Linked DNA regions of Homo sapiens: regions 2 and 3 are each linked to region 1. The links are contacts of gene promoters, found by promoter capture Hi-C in blood cells and fetal thymus (Javierre and others, 2016). All regions are on one chromosome and are shown on one strand. The core of a region is centred on a gene start or on the middle of the fragment in contact, and the rest is flanking DNA. Distances in the headings are between cores, read along the strand shown. Region 1 holds the start of PPP1R12A (protein phosphatase 1 regulatory subunit 12A). Region 2 overlaps LIN7A (lin-7 cell polarity scaffold A). Region 3 overlaps SYT1 (synaptotagmin 1).

Evidence for each region. Contacts are between HindIII fragments. The CHiCAGO score rates a contact against its expected background, and 5 or more counts as called.
Region 2: a contact is called between a fragment that was not itself captured here and the fragment with the promoter of PPP1R12A in region 1, in 1 of 17 cell types (neutrophils). The highest score is 7.0, in neutrophils.
Region 3: a fragment that was not itself captured here is called in contact with the fragment with the promoter of PPP1R12A in region 1 in 1 of 17 cell types (endothelial precursors); the score reaches 5.4 in endothelial precursors.

The regions. Positions count from the first base shown.
Region 1 is chr12:79,932,680-79,937,463 of GRCh38, reverse strand. PPP1R12A (protein phosphatase 1 regulatory subunit 12A) reads left to right here and starts at 2,367. Exons shown (of 25, transcript NM_002480.3): 1 at 2,367-2,769. The coding sequence starts at 2,533. PPP1R12A-AS1 (PPP1R12A antisense RNA 1) reads right to left here and starts at 2,183. Exons shown (of 2, transcript NR_146535.1): 1 at 1,910-2,183. RefSeq lists enhancers at 1,852-2,417, 2,141-2,435, 2,482-2,781, 2,418-2,981, 3,122-3,181 and 1 more and a silencer at 2,862-2,951. The HindIII fragment of the contact is 9,894 bases long and covers 1,006-4,784 here.
Region 2 is chr12:80,918,248-80,923,031 of GRCh38, reverse strand. The region is part of intron 1 of LIN7A (lin-7 cell polarity scaffold A); the gene reads left to right. Among named protein-coding and RNA genes, the nearest start is that of MIR618, 15 kb to the left of the region's middle. The HindIII fragment of the contact is 7,230 bases long and covers 1-4,784 here.
Region 3 is chr12:79,409,511-79,414,294 of GRCh38, reverse strand. The region is part of intron 9 of SYT1 (synaptotagmin 1); the gene reads right to left. Among named protein-coding and RNA genes, the nearest start is that of MIR1252, 7.4 kb to the left of the region's middle. The HindIII fragment of the contact is 704 bases long and covers 1,540-2,243 here.

The sequences.
Region 1 (4,784 bases), core at 1,118-3,617:
TTTTTTTTTTTTGGTAAAGATAGGGTCTAGCTCTGTCGCTCAGGTTGTAGTGCAGAGAGCTCACTGCAGCCTCGAACTCCTGGGCAGAGTTCGCCTCAGCCTCTCAAAGTGATAGGATTACAGGTGTGAGCCACTGTGCTGGGACTGTGTGTGTCAATAAAAAATTTTGCTTGTTCTAGAATTAACCCAAGGTCTTCAGTACCATTAATTCACTAACAACAATTTAAAAAAAATCCTCCCTAAAGACAAAGTAGGTGGCAGTTTCAGAGTACTTTCAATATTAACATAGAGCATCTTGACCCTTAGAGCCACGAAAGAAGAAAAACTAAATTCAGTGAAATTTGCACATGATAGCAGCCCTCCTTGGTTGTTTTTTCCCTGACAGCTTCTGGGAACTGAATGAACTTAATTATGTTTTATTAATAAACTATTATTAATTTTGCATCCTGAAATAAGTGCTTGAATCAGGAATAGCATACTTCCCACTAAATTCCTTTTGCCTGAATGAAATCTTCAGATTCCCATCTATACTGCAAGGGCACTTTAAGAGCTACCACATAGGCCATAACGTTCTTGGAAAACAGGATATGCTGTCAGTTGCCTAGGTAGAGACAGGAGCTGACAAGGCAATCCTCAAGTTCCTTTCTTTTATTCTGAGAGCTGTATTCTGTGGATAGGGATTTTGTATTTTAGTGCTAACAATGTTTTTCAGTACCTAACACCATGAGTATTCAAAGGTCTGATGTTATCTTTAATGTATGTAATGAACATACAATGGTATATCTTATGAATATTACATTCATTTTCTATTCCTACAACGTTTTCAGAGGAAATATTTTTACCCTGACCTGGATTCTATCGCTATCCTAATAACTGTGGTTCAGAAAATTGTCTCACAGGCAGACAGTTTCCTAATCACGTTTTACTCAATTATTTTATTTCTCAATATGATAGGCTGTGAAGTAGTCCACTGGAAAAGGCATCATGCTGAGAGTAAGAAAAGCTTATTTGTTCACTGCTCTATCTCCAGCACCTAGAACAATGCCTGACCCAGAACAGGTGCATAGTATTTGCTGAGTGAATTCTAATCCTACTTCTGGGTAAAATTAAGTAAATTAATTAGTTCTTGAGGGACTCTGTCTAGATGACCCCTAAACTTCCATGGTAAGGTTTTGTGGTTTTTATCTTGGCTTTTCTAAATGCTCTAAAAATAGTAGTGGATGGTAACAATGCAGTGTTCAGTAAAATCAATTGGTGGAGATTGTAGATAGATGGCTCATAAGACATCAGTATTACAAATCCTATGTGTGTGCGCGTGTGGTCATACAAGGCAAAGTTAAAGTCTTTTTTTTATGACGATGATAAATTAGTCTTGTTTGGGCGACTGAACTCAAGAGGTGGTTCAAATAAATGTCATATTTTTCATTGTATCTTCAGTGCCTAGTACAGTTACTGGCTCATAGTAGGTATTCAATAAATAGTGGTTGAATTAATTGCCTTCCTTAACGTTCCGTTTAAATGCTAGACGCAGCTAGGTCTTTACCCCTCCTTAGAAAGAGATGGAGCTGTAACCAGAAATCCCTTAAAAGGTAAGGACCAGTAATCAGGCTGAGCTAAGCTCATGGGTAGTACGAGACAGGCTTAAAGCACTGAAGGAAGAAAGAAGAGAACCCAAGCGTGAGAGAAAGCAAAACAAAACAAGTAAAGAGAGGAAGAAAAACATTTCTAAAGTGGGGGTTGGCAGGAAGCCACAGCAATTACAGCAGGTCAACCCTTGTCAATAGGTGGTCACCTCAAGAACTTACCATTAAAACCCTCGGCCACACAGACCCCACTTTTAAAAGGTTATTAATTCTGACATGCCCAAGTTCATCTGAGTTCCTTAGAAAGATCAACCAGCAGCACCTACTTCACGACCTATCCTCCATTCCATTCAAATAACGCGGCCAATAGGAAAATCCTCCGCCCTGAGCCAACGACTCGGCGTAGCTGAGACAGCACGGGAGGCAGATCTGCCCTGTAGAGCCTTGCGGTTCCACTGCTGGCCTCCGGATTCCCGGGAGCCCCCAGCCCGACAGGACAACCTTCCTTCCCCGCTTCCTCCTTTCCAGGTCTGTCCCAGCCCCCGCTGCCTGGGCCACACCCGCTTCCCTCTGGTGGCCCAGCCACCACCGCCGCAGTTCGCGGGAGCGCTCTTCCTGGGGCGGGCACAGGCCCAGGGCGCATGCGCACTGGTCGAAGGGCGCCTCCCAGTCCGGATCTCGCGAAGTTACGTTAGATTGGCCGCCGGTGACGGGTGGCCGTGCTGGGGGCGGGAGGGCTTCTGTGGTAGGAAGGGAGGTCCGCTCGGCCGGGTGCGCCGCCCCAGTGCTCTGTGGGATACTGGAAGTCTCGAGCGTCGGCTCCGGGTTCCCAGCCCTCCTCTGGCCCGCACTCATAGAAACATTCACACACCCCCTGCCTCCCCTCTCTTCCCTCTCCGCCTCCCCCTTCCCCCCCTCGCGATAAGAAGACCCGGCGGCAGGAGAGGGGATGAAGATGGCGGACGCGAAGCAGAAGCGGAACGAGCAGCTGAAACGCTGGATCGGCTCCGAGACGGACCTCGAGCCTCCGGTGGTGAAGCGCCAGAAGACCAAGGTGAAGTTCGACGATGGCGCCGTCTTCCTGGCTGCTTGCTCCAGCGGCGACACGGACGAGGTCCTCAAGCTGCTGCACCGCGGCGCCGACATCAATTACGCCAATGTGGACGGACTCACTGCCCTGCACCAGGTCTGTGCGCCCCGCCGCCGGCTCTCCTGACCGTGAGGGTTCTCGTCGGCCTCCTGCTCGGGCCTGCCCTCAGTTCTCCACCTCTTGAGGCTGGGGGCGGCGGGAGACTCCCTGCTGCGGGGTGAGGGGGCGGTTTCCCCAGAGGGCGGGAGGGAGAGCTGGTGGAAGGGAGGGCGCTGGGCTTGAGGCCCCCCTTCAGAACAGTTGCTGGTGGAGTTGGGAACCGGGTGATTTCCGGGGCATAGGGGAAAAGGAACTGTGGTCGTTTGGGGCCCCAGGGCCATTCGTGGATAAGTCTGGGATTTGGGGTCGAGACAAGGAGGGGTGTAGTGGGGTTGTGCCTGGGCCCCGGTGTCAGTGGTATATTCGGAGGGGTGGATGCTGAAGGAAGAAAACTAACAAGGGGCATTACGGACGGTTAGGCAGATGAACATCTTTGACTTGTAGGTGGGCATTGGATTTGTTGCACTTTTTAGGACTTGATTACAAATGATGATAATAATAGTAATCTAGAGCCCTAAGCCGAGTGCCCTGAACGAACGATTTCCTGTTTTCTCATTTATTACTCTTGGTCACTGGGGAGGGGAAAACAGGGTGTAATTAGCTGATCTGCACCGGCTGAAAGGAAGGGGATGGAAGTGGGTAGAGTAAGGAAGCCCTCTAAAGGGCTTGCCCACCTCCGGACCGGAACGTGTTGAGTCTGATACTCGAAGTTTGCCGCAGTGTCAGAGATCCTTGAGCCCCAGGTCCTCGGGTGTGCACTGGTGTTAGAAAGAGAAGAATAAATAGGGGACACTCTTTTCAAAGCCGGTTACCAAGCTCTGGTTTTTCTTTTGGGGTTGGGAAAAAAGAAAGCTGGTCACAAACTTTTCTCAAAATGGATGCTTTGTGCATATTAAAGTTTTATAGTAGTCTGATTGGGATCTCTCAATGTTAGCCAAATAAGGAGAAACTATTGGCAATCCAGAGATAATGTTGCCTTGCCTTTAACAGGCCAAAAGCAACACAACCACGTAGAGTTATGCATAAAAAGCAATTTTTAAGTGACGGTAATAGGTGACAAAACATAGGCTTTTTCTATTTTCTTAGCGGGCAACTTGGAATAACTGTAATAGAAAATGACTTTGCAGCGATAGCTTCCCCTTAACAATGAAAAGACTTGTAAGCTATCTCAAAGTTGCCTTGGTTGTGTGTGGAAGATGCATAGCCTTATTTTGAATAATGTTGTAGTAAAAACTTGTTTGGGAGGTTGAAACTCAAGGCTTTATATTTCATGAATATTAACTTGATGCCTTTTAAAAAAAAGGTGTGTAGTGACATTTTTCCTTGTCCTGCTTACTGTTTAAGGGAGTGATGACCATTTTAAATTTTGTGTAATGGAATTCTCTTATCAGACTTGGAGTATAGCCTTTGTTTACAAAGTTGACTGGATATATTGAAATGATTGACACATTGCAGGACAAATATGGAATTAAAAATGTGGCACCCAGTAAAAATATAGCAGGGTGTCTAGCGCTTTCTCAATTTCATTAATTTAGATTCTCTAATGCATAGCAAACTTTTTATTTGGGTGAAGTTTATTTAAGGCATATCATAACTCGTAAAATTTTAAAACCATGGTGTTGAGAATGAAGGAAACTTTTGGCATTAAAAATGATAATGTAATTATATAAGATGAATCTTCAAATTTCTTTCAAGTGTACTTTACACGTTTTAGTGTGAAACAGATTTTGAAAGACGATTATTACTGTAGGAGGTCAGGATAATTGGATAATGGTTCGCATCAATATGTTTTATTCAAATTGTCAAATAGAAATTTAAAGTTACTATTGTTGTGGAGGAACCCAGTTGTATTGGCTTAGAGGAAGACGAAAAGTTTTGATATTTACATTATTGTGATACTGGTTTAGGGAGGAAGAGAAAATACATTTAACTGCCTTCTTAAGATCTTTTTTTCTCCTCTCAATATTCACACGTTACAAGAATTGTCAGACTTACCAATGTCTTCCTGATTA
Region 2 (4,784 bases), core at 1,606-4,105, 990 kb before region 1:
CAGAAACACCCTCACAGACATAACAAGAAATAGTGATTTACCAACTACAGTAGTGCCCCCCACTTATGCAAGGGGGTATGTGCCAAGACCCCCGGGGGCTGCCTGAAGCCAAGGTTAGTAGTGAACCCTCTGTATACTGTTTTTCTTATACAGTAATGGGCAGGTAGTGTATACAGGACAAAGGGATGATTCATGTCCCGGACAGAGATGGAAGGCAAGGGGTTTCATTGTGCTACTCAGAGCAAAGCACAATTTAAAATAGATGAATCATTCATTTCTAGAATTTTCCATTTAATATTTTTGGACAGAGATTGACTGCAGGTAACCATAACCACAGAAATCGAAACTGAGGATAAGGGGGGATTACTGTATCTGGGTATCTTTTAATTCAGTCAAATTGACACTTAAAATTAACTATCTCAGATTAAATTATAAGAAAGTACCAGCATATTTTGATCCTTCTTCCCAGGCTGTGCTAGTGAACCAAGAGATCATGACTGTGACATTCAGGTTACCTTTCAGTGGCCTGTAATACACAGACAAAACTTCTTTATATGGACCTGGAATTTTGATAGGCTCACAAAAGTGAGTGAAAAGTGGTAATAGTGCCCCAAGTCTTCTTTCCTGATAGTCTTTGCCTCCTAGTGAAAGGAGAGAAAGGCATTTGGGAATGTAGCAGGCCCTGAATTTCAGTCATGAAGAGAGAATCTTGACATCCCTTTAATGTTACTTGTGAATGTCCTAAAAGACATAGACTGTTCTTATCCAACATCATTAAAATACATGCCTTGAGGTTTTAATACGGATTTTAAGTGGACCAAGTAATGCTATATTTTTCTAGCACTCTATCTGGAAAAGATGTTCTACCTAAGTAAACTTACAGATAACAGATGTTTACTCCTGTAGGCCAAAATTTTATTTTTAACCATTTTTAACCTAAGCATAGGATTTATTTCCTTTCCTATTTCATTACAGCGCATGTTTTCTAGCAAATGGGCTTTTTGTAAACAGTGGAAGATAAAACAAATAAGGCAGTAGAATTTAATGCACATTACTGAAGGAATTCTGAGATACTTATTTTGTGAACTCAAAGGGAATATTTGCATCCTTCTGGCTTCTCAGACCTATCCTACTTAGCTGAGTTTGACAGATACATGCCTCTGGATGAATGAAATATTCTGTGACCAGGCAGACATTAATTTCTTCTGATGTCACACATTTTTCAAATATTGCCAGTTTGGCATCACATGGTAACCACCAATAGGAAAATGTTAAGATGGGTGTATGTTATAGGCTGAATATTTCTGTCCCCCCAAAATGCATATGTTGAAGCCCTAGCCCCTAATGTGATGGTACTTGAGGTGGGCTTTTAGGAGGTAATTAGGTTTCCATGAAGTCAGAAGGGTGGGGCCTCCCTGATGGGATTATTAGCCTTCTAAGAAGAGGAGAGCAGAGCATGCTCCCTCCCACCCTCCCCAACGCCTTTGTGCTCACTTGATCTCCCTCTCACTTCTGACTTGTGAAGACAGATCCAGAAGGCTGCTGTTCAGAACCAGAAGAAGACCCTCGTCAGGTAGAATCTGCTGGCACTCTGATCTTGGAAGTGCCAGCCTCCAAAACTATGAGAAATAAACATCAGTTGCTTAAGCCACTCAGTGTATGGCATTTTGTTACAGCAGTCTGCTTTAGTCTATTTGGGCTGCTATAATAAAATACCATAGACTAGGTCACTTATAAACTACAGATATATATTTCTTATGGTTCTGGAGTCTGGGAATTCCAAAATCAAGGTACCAGCATATTCCATGTCTGTTTAGGGCCTGTTTTTCCTGGTTCTTAGAGGACACCTTCTTGCTGTGTCCTCACGTGGTAGAAGGGGCAAGGCAGCTCTCTGAGGCCTAATCTCCAGCGCCCTCTTGACTTAATCATATCTCAAAGTCCTTACCTTCTAACACCATCACATTGGTGATTAGGCTTCAGCATAGGCATTTTGGAGGGACACATTCAGGCCATACCACAGCTGGAGCTAAGAGAGCGTAGCAATCATTACATGATCTTGGCCTCAGCAATCCTCTGTCTTAAGTAGCTGAACAGTTTAGCCATAGGCCAGATAGATGTACATGGATATTAGAACTAGATAGCATTATCTGGCCAATATTACAACTTAATATGGTACATATTAAGGTATTCCTGTTTTTTGCTTAGTTTTATTTTTCTTCTCTGCCTTAAGAAATCTCTGTCTTTCATGTACTAACAAGTTTTCAAAACTTCTCTTGGATCACTCTCCATTATTTTCAGAGCTTTAAAGAATATAATTTAATTATGCATATTTTTAAAGTTTCTCCTGAATATGTTTAAAGATGAGATTTTCTCTTTGTAAACTGTAAATTTTCCAAATGTGATGGAGCTCTAATCAATTGGCTTATATTCAAATAATACTTTAATGATCTAACGTTGATGTGAGCCTTTGCCTATTTTGCTCTGTCTTTTTTGTATTGTTTGTAATGTTGGCCCTAGGGTTTAGAGTATATATCCTTAATTTAACACAGTCTTCCTTAATAATATCACTTACAACCAACAATATACTTCCCATTGCTCCCTTCCATCTTTGGTGCTATTGTTGTATCTATAAACCCATAATTATTGCTACCAATTTTACCTTAACCCAGAGGTCACAAACTACAGCCCTGATATCAAATATATCTTGAGACTTAAAAATGGCTTTTACATATTTAAATAGTTGAAAAACATGAAAGAAGAATATTTTGTGACACATGGATATCATATTAAATTCAAATTTCAGCATCCATAAGTGAAGTTTATTGGAGCACCGCCACGCTCATTTACTCACAAATTGTCTACTGGCTGCTTTCCTGCTACGGCTGCAGAGTTGAATAGTTGGGACGGAGACTGGTCTGTGAACTATTTACTATATGGGCCTAATACTTTTCAACCTCTGCTTATAAAGCATTGAAGAAAAATAAAAAGAGAAGTTGTATTTTATATTGACTTTCAACTTAACCATTTGAGGTGCTCCACTGTGCACATGTGTCACCGAGAGATTCTGTCTCTTTGCCCTCTACCTTCCCCCAGGGGTAGACTGCAATTGCTTGTGACTTGATAGTGAATGAGCTTGGTGGTGGAGACGAAGGTGTTTCTCTGTTGTCCTGGTCCAGCCTCAGTCTTAGGAAGCCTCTGTGTGTCTGGGTCTCAAGCATAGGGCTTTCTCAGGATCCTGCCTTTCTTTGGTCTGCCAGACTAAATTCAGCCTTCTGTCTATGGAGAGTCTTGTGTGGGAGAGTTCCCTGCCCCTTTCCAGTGGTAGGAAATCTATAACAATATACATATACTATCAAAGGATTTCAGGACTAGGACTGTTTCCTGCCCTCTCTTTCCCACCCCATTCCTGGGATAGAGGGTTTTTGGCTTTTATCCTTCTCCCCGTTGTAATGGGTCTACACCTCTTGTTTTCCACCCTGATCTGTTCTTTCTAGGAAGCACCCGGTGGAAGTTTGTGGAAAAAAATCAGTGAGTGCTTGCCACTCTCAAAGGTTATATACTCATCCCTGCTCACAGTTGGCCCTTCCTGAATTTGTTAAACATTTTAGCTGGATTTTTCTCACTTATTTGGAATAGTACTCACTGTCTCTTCTTCCCAAGCTCTCCCACAGGTCAGGGAGCCTGTGTTCACTTTCCAACTCCTCTTAGAGGGGTTTTACACCCTTTTACTACTACTGTTTTGCAACGTTAACTCATACAATATGAACTATAAGTTATTCTCACCTAGCAGAGTAAGAAACTGTGTTCCCAGATGGGAAGACAGACTTAGAAAGCACTTTTGTAGCGTGGTTAATTTTTGGTGCTTATTTGTACATCTCAGCAACTACCGGCATGCATTCCTTAACGATGGAAATACATTCTATGAGAAAAGAAGCATTAGGTGATTTTATTGTGGGAATGTCATAGAGTGTACTTATAAAAACCTAGATAGTATAGCCTATTACACACCTAGGCTGTTTGGTATAGCCTATTGCTCCTAGGTTACAAACCTGTACAGGCTGTGACTGCACAGAATACTGTGGGCAGTTGTGACACAACGATAAGTGTTTGTGTATCTGAATATAGAAAAGGTACAGTGCAAATACAGTATCATAATCTTATGAGATCATTATCATATATGCAGCTCCTCATTGACTGAAATGTTATGTAGTCCATGACTGTATTTGCTTATGCAAACTATTTTTCTGTTCTTGCTCATATTTCAAATTAAAATCCAATTTAGAGATGAATTTTAAGTGAGTCTCTAATATGGTAGACTGAGCCAACACAGAAACTCTTCCATTACAAATATCAAGATGTGCCAGATAAAATTTAACAATTAAAAAACTATAGCTTAGATTGAAAATGAGGGAGTAGAATCTCCAAGTGTCTGAAATTAAAGGGAAAGGGAAATTGAAAGCTGGAATGGAGAGGTGTGAGCTGATACTTTAGTAAGAGTAGATGAAGGGAGATGAAAAGGGAGCAAGGGGTCCCAGACAGCCCTATGCCTGAGGTCAATACAGAACTGGAGGTGAGACATTAGAGTTGCATTATGCCCATAAGCCAAACTGCATTACCTAGTTTGGGATCTAAATATATTCCACCTACTTGGTTCAGGAATCCACCTTTCAAGGAATATACATAAGGCCAGGGACGGTGGCTCATGCCTGTAATCCCAGTACTGTGGGAGGCCAACATGGGTAGGATCGCTTGAGCTCAGGAGTTTGAGACCAGCCTCATCACTA
Region 3 (4,784 bases), core at 642-3,141, 520 kb after region 1:
CAAAATACTTGTCTTCCTGGTAGGCACAATGCATTCTTATAGGCCAGTAATTTGTACCAACTGCGGTTCAGTTGCATTCAGAATGCAATTAACCCACATTCAATTTCTCCTTCCTTTGCATTTTGATTTAATGATGCTTGACTCTAAATAGCTTCTCCTATAGAGGAAGAAAAATAGACTTCAGCAAGACAATTGGAGGATGGGCAAACCCCAATAATGTTTTATAATTTTATGGGCATGGTGTTCTGTGTTATTGCCCACTAAATTTTCATTGGGGTGTACTCCAGGTGAGTCACTGTAGCAGTCCCAGCCTAAATTGTAAACAAAAAATGCATATTTGCCTTCCTTACATATATGGAAAAGAACTGTTAGGCTTATAGAGGAAAAGAGAGTTATGGTTCAATATTTAATTTTTGATTTTGCTGTTAGAGGATTATTTTTTTCTTCCTGTTTTTATTTGTACCTTACTATTTAGGCATGCAATTACCTGAAGTTTTGTCCTGATAATCTAACTGGGAATTAAGAGAGAGTATTCAAACTTTCTCTTACATTAATTCTTGATTTATGATTTAGCTTTTGACCATGAGGAAAGGTTTAAAAACTTGCAAAGAATTAACTACTCCAGAGTATTTTATACAACACAGAAGCAAGAAAATATATCATCCCATTCACAAATAGAATGTGCCTAGGGTATTTGAAATTCTCTACTTAGCAAATATCAGGAAATGCTACAAACAGCTATTTGGCATATTGTGATCTGGCTACTTACTGTATTGGCTTTAAATGTAGTGAAACATGACACAACATCAGATATTTAAAGGCACAAAGTTGTTTTCAGCTCAGTTACACATTTAGATGGGGAGTATCCTATTTGGTATGAAAATAGTTGAGCAGACAGATCTTGTGGTTTATTGACTACTTGAATTAAATTTGAGCCCCTTGGAATATTTTCACTTGCCACTCTACAGAGACAAGAGCTTGACAGTCAAGTCAAGGGAAAAACTGTGCTGGGAGAAAACCCATAAATCACATATGAAGCAGTGTCCTTCAAACTCAACACAATGCGAGCCAAGATCATGGTGGCTTCTTTCTTCAAAGGAGGAAAATATCTGGGTACCTTATTGGAAGAGGTCAGGTGACAACTTCATTGACTGCCTCTTGAAATGGAAGGATAACCTCTCCTTTTATGTTGCCATTCTGAGTTAGCATACATGACTTATCTTCAGAACCAGAGGCTTTTTCCTTTCAGTCTGAAGTTAGTGTTTCCAAATTTGAGCCCATGAGCTTCTTTCTCTCCTCTCATATCTTTCCACAATAATAAAAAAGGCTAAATATAAAGGCAGGGGAAATGTTCCACTTCAGTAGTGATCAAAGGCATAGTTAACCTGAGGCTGATGTTTTGGTCTATTGAATCGGTAAAGAATTTAAAAAAATTATATGATGTTTATTGCTGAGCAAAAGTATTGGCATATACTCAGATAGTAGGGTAACAATGTAAAACGTTAATTTTTCTGGAGAGGAATTTGGCATATCAAAGCTTTAAGATATGCATATTATTTGATCAGAAAAACTATCTTCTAAAAGTAATTGTGGATATGAACAAAGATTTAGTAACAAAGATGTTAATTGCAGTGTGGTTTATAATACAGAAAAACTCAAAATGATTAACAATAGTGTTACAGTAGGTGGCTGGTCAGACATGAGCAGGACAGGAGAGACCATCGTCCCGTCCCCCACCCAGGAATGTCAGGCAACCATCAGATGATGGTCAGGCAATTATTAACTGACTCTCTAAAATAATAATTGGTTGCAGCCAGCCCCAGGGAAAGTAGTCTCCCAATACATAGAAAAACCTGAGACTAGTGATCAGCTTCCTGATAAGATCTCAGGAGTTGGGCGAATGGGCTGAAGCATGCAAACTAAGAGGCAAGATGGTGGAGTTTAACTGGTATATTACCTTATAGGGACACTTGACTGGTAAGGGAAGAGTGCCCCAAGTAAGCATGCATACAACTCCAGTAAACACACTCTGCATGTGGCTGGCTCCTCCTAAGCACTGGCGGGCCACTGTGCATGCGGACAGCCCACCCCAAGGGAAGAATCATGGCAGAAGGGACACAAGACCCAGGAAGCATGCCAGTGTATAAAACCCCAAATCAAAAGGTCAAACTGTGGACTTGATCTCTCAAGTCACCTGTGTGGCCCTCTTCCAAGTGTACTTTACTTCTTTCTGCTCTAAAGCTTTTTAATAAACTTTCTACTGCCCTGTTCATGTCTGACTAGCTATCTACTGTAACATTTCAGACCTGTACAGACTCGCCATGCCAACAATAGGACGTTGGTTAAATTGTGGAATGATATCATGAAATGATCTATAGCAATTTAAAACAATGTTGAAAAGAATATTGGTGCAGAAGGACGCCTCAATATATCATTGCTAAAAAAAAAAGAGGTTAAAAATGATGTGCTTTGTATGTTTCAATTGTATTAAGAGAAGTATATAGATACACATGTGTATATGAAAATCAACCTGGAAAAATGTACCATAAAATTAACTGCACTTATTTCTGGGTGGTGAGTTTTATGATTGCTTAGCACTTTTTTCTAATTATCTACATTTCAAAATTTCTACAATTACATATATATTTCTATGTAAACACATATATTTATGTTTGTTTCAAATATTTATATTTATGTTAGTAAAACACAAAAGGTTTGATTTATATAAATAAATATGAATATGCATGGAAAGCTAAGTCACTGTATGATCTGACAATGATAGCAAGTCAAGGAGCCAGAGAACCTGACCATGACCAAAACTAGGTGTTGCCTCCTTCAGTACCCATTTCACCTCCTTCCCTTAGTTTTAGCACCCTAATTTTTAGCTGGGCACATTGCCACCTACAATAAAAGACTACATTTCCCAGCTTCCCTTGCAGGTGGTCAAGACTAGATTCATGACCATCGAGATGTAAGTGGAAGTACTATGTGGGACTTTCAGTAAAGGACATAGGTTCACACTTATTTTTCCCTTTTTCTCTTCATTGTCTGGAGCCTCATGTGCCACACAGGTCCATGGCATGAAAGCCATATGCTGAGGACGGCAGAAGAGAAAGACGGCAGCTTAGGTTCCTTGTGATAGATGAAGACCCCATGTCAGCTTTGGACTGCTTATCTTTACATTATTTCATATTCCAGAGAAATAAATTTCTATGTCATTTACATCATTGTTATTTTGAGGTTTGCATTATTCTTCAACCAATCTCGGGCTTATCTAATATACTGACTAATTGTGTTTGTGGTTGGTTATTGCTGTCAAATCAGAACTGTTTACTGAAGGGCTCCTTAAAATAAGTTATCCAGAAAAAGAAAATATTTGGAGCATTATGAAAACCACACTTTCACATCTACACTAGCATGCTGAATTTCTTGGATTTGTAGATGATCTCTCATTAGTGACTTTTTTTTGATACAGCCCCCAATAAGCCTACAAATACATGACCTTAAATGTTGATATAGTCAGTTTTGAGGGCATAACTGCCAAATGTAATGCTTAATTATAGAAAAGTAACACATTAAATGGATGTGAATAATGGTGAAAATAATGAAGTTTTAAAACCAGTGAAAATATAGCTTATTAAAATACAGAGGCCTTCAGTAAATACATTTAGGGAAAAGGAGCCTATTACTAGAGGAAAGTTCTTCATCTGAGATGCATACGAGCTTGTATAACCTGCTTTATTTTGTTGTTATTATTGTCGTTCTGTTTTTTTTTTTTTTTTTTTTTTGACTTTGAACAGCCTGAAGCCATGGTTTTAAGTCTGCATCTGTAGTGATAAGTGGAAAAGAGAGATGAGGAAGGGGCTTTACTGGCCCAACCAGAAACACAAACTAAGAACCCATGACTGAATTCTCGCCCTTGAACACCCCTGATTCTGTGAATGGCTTTATGACCCTGAGAGAAAAACTGTATTGAACTCCAACACAATCAATAGATGGATAGGCAAGTAAGGTATTTCTTTAGTAATAGTTCATATTGCTGCAAAATTAAGACAATGTAATTTGTACCCTGTGAATATACATGATCAGCCTATTATTCTCTTTTAGCAACATGAAACTTATTCTCTCAGTTTTCTTCATGTGGCTAATTTGTAGAACAGAGGGATAGGGTGCTTCAGGGATTCAAACCTTGATGATGATGAAAACTATTTTGTTAACACTGCCTCTGTAAACACACTCAGCATTTCAAAATAATTTTTGAAATGGCCATGAAGATATGAGCAATAAAAGAACACACAGCATTAATTCCTCCCACCCCCAAAAGTGTAAGACATTATTAGAAGTGAAGTGAACAGAGTAAGAAAAGGAAAAAAAACAGTTTAGAGTGATACTTTTTCTTTCTTTCCTTTTTCTCTTTAATCAATGCAAATGTTCATGTTTTCATCTCTGTAGGATTCTTTCCTTGCTGCATTCCACAAGCCCAGAGAAACTCGCTGGAACTCATACAAAATCCTCTCCTACTACCATATTAGGAATCAAAATGTGTAGCAGAAACCCACTGCCAAGCCGAGATAATCAACAGGGAATGTCTATGCCTTCAAGCCAAATGAGTGCAGAAAAATGATCAAGGCAGCAAAGTAAATAATAAAACTGAAAACTGGCTTTAGATTATGGTCTTGTCATGCACCCCACTCTCTAATAAGGCTGTTCTGGAAATTTCTCTACCTCTAGGCCATTCAGGTATAAGAAGCTAGTAAGGTCTAATTTTGCTATGAATAAAATTC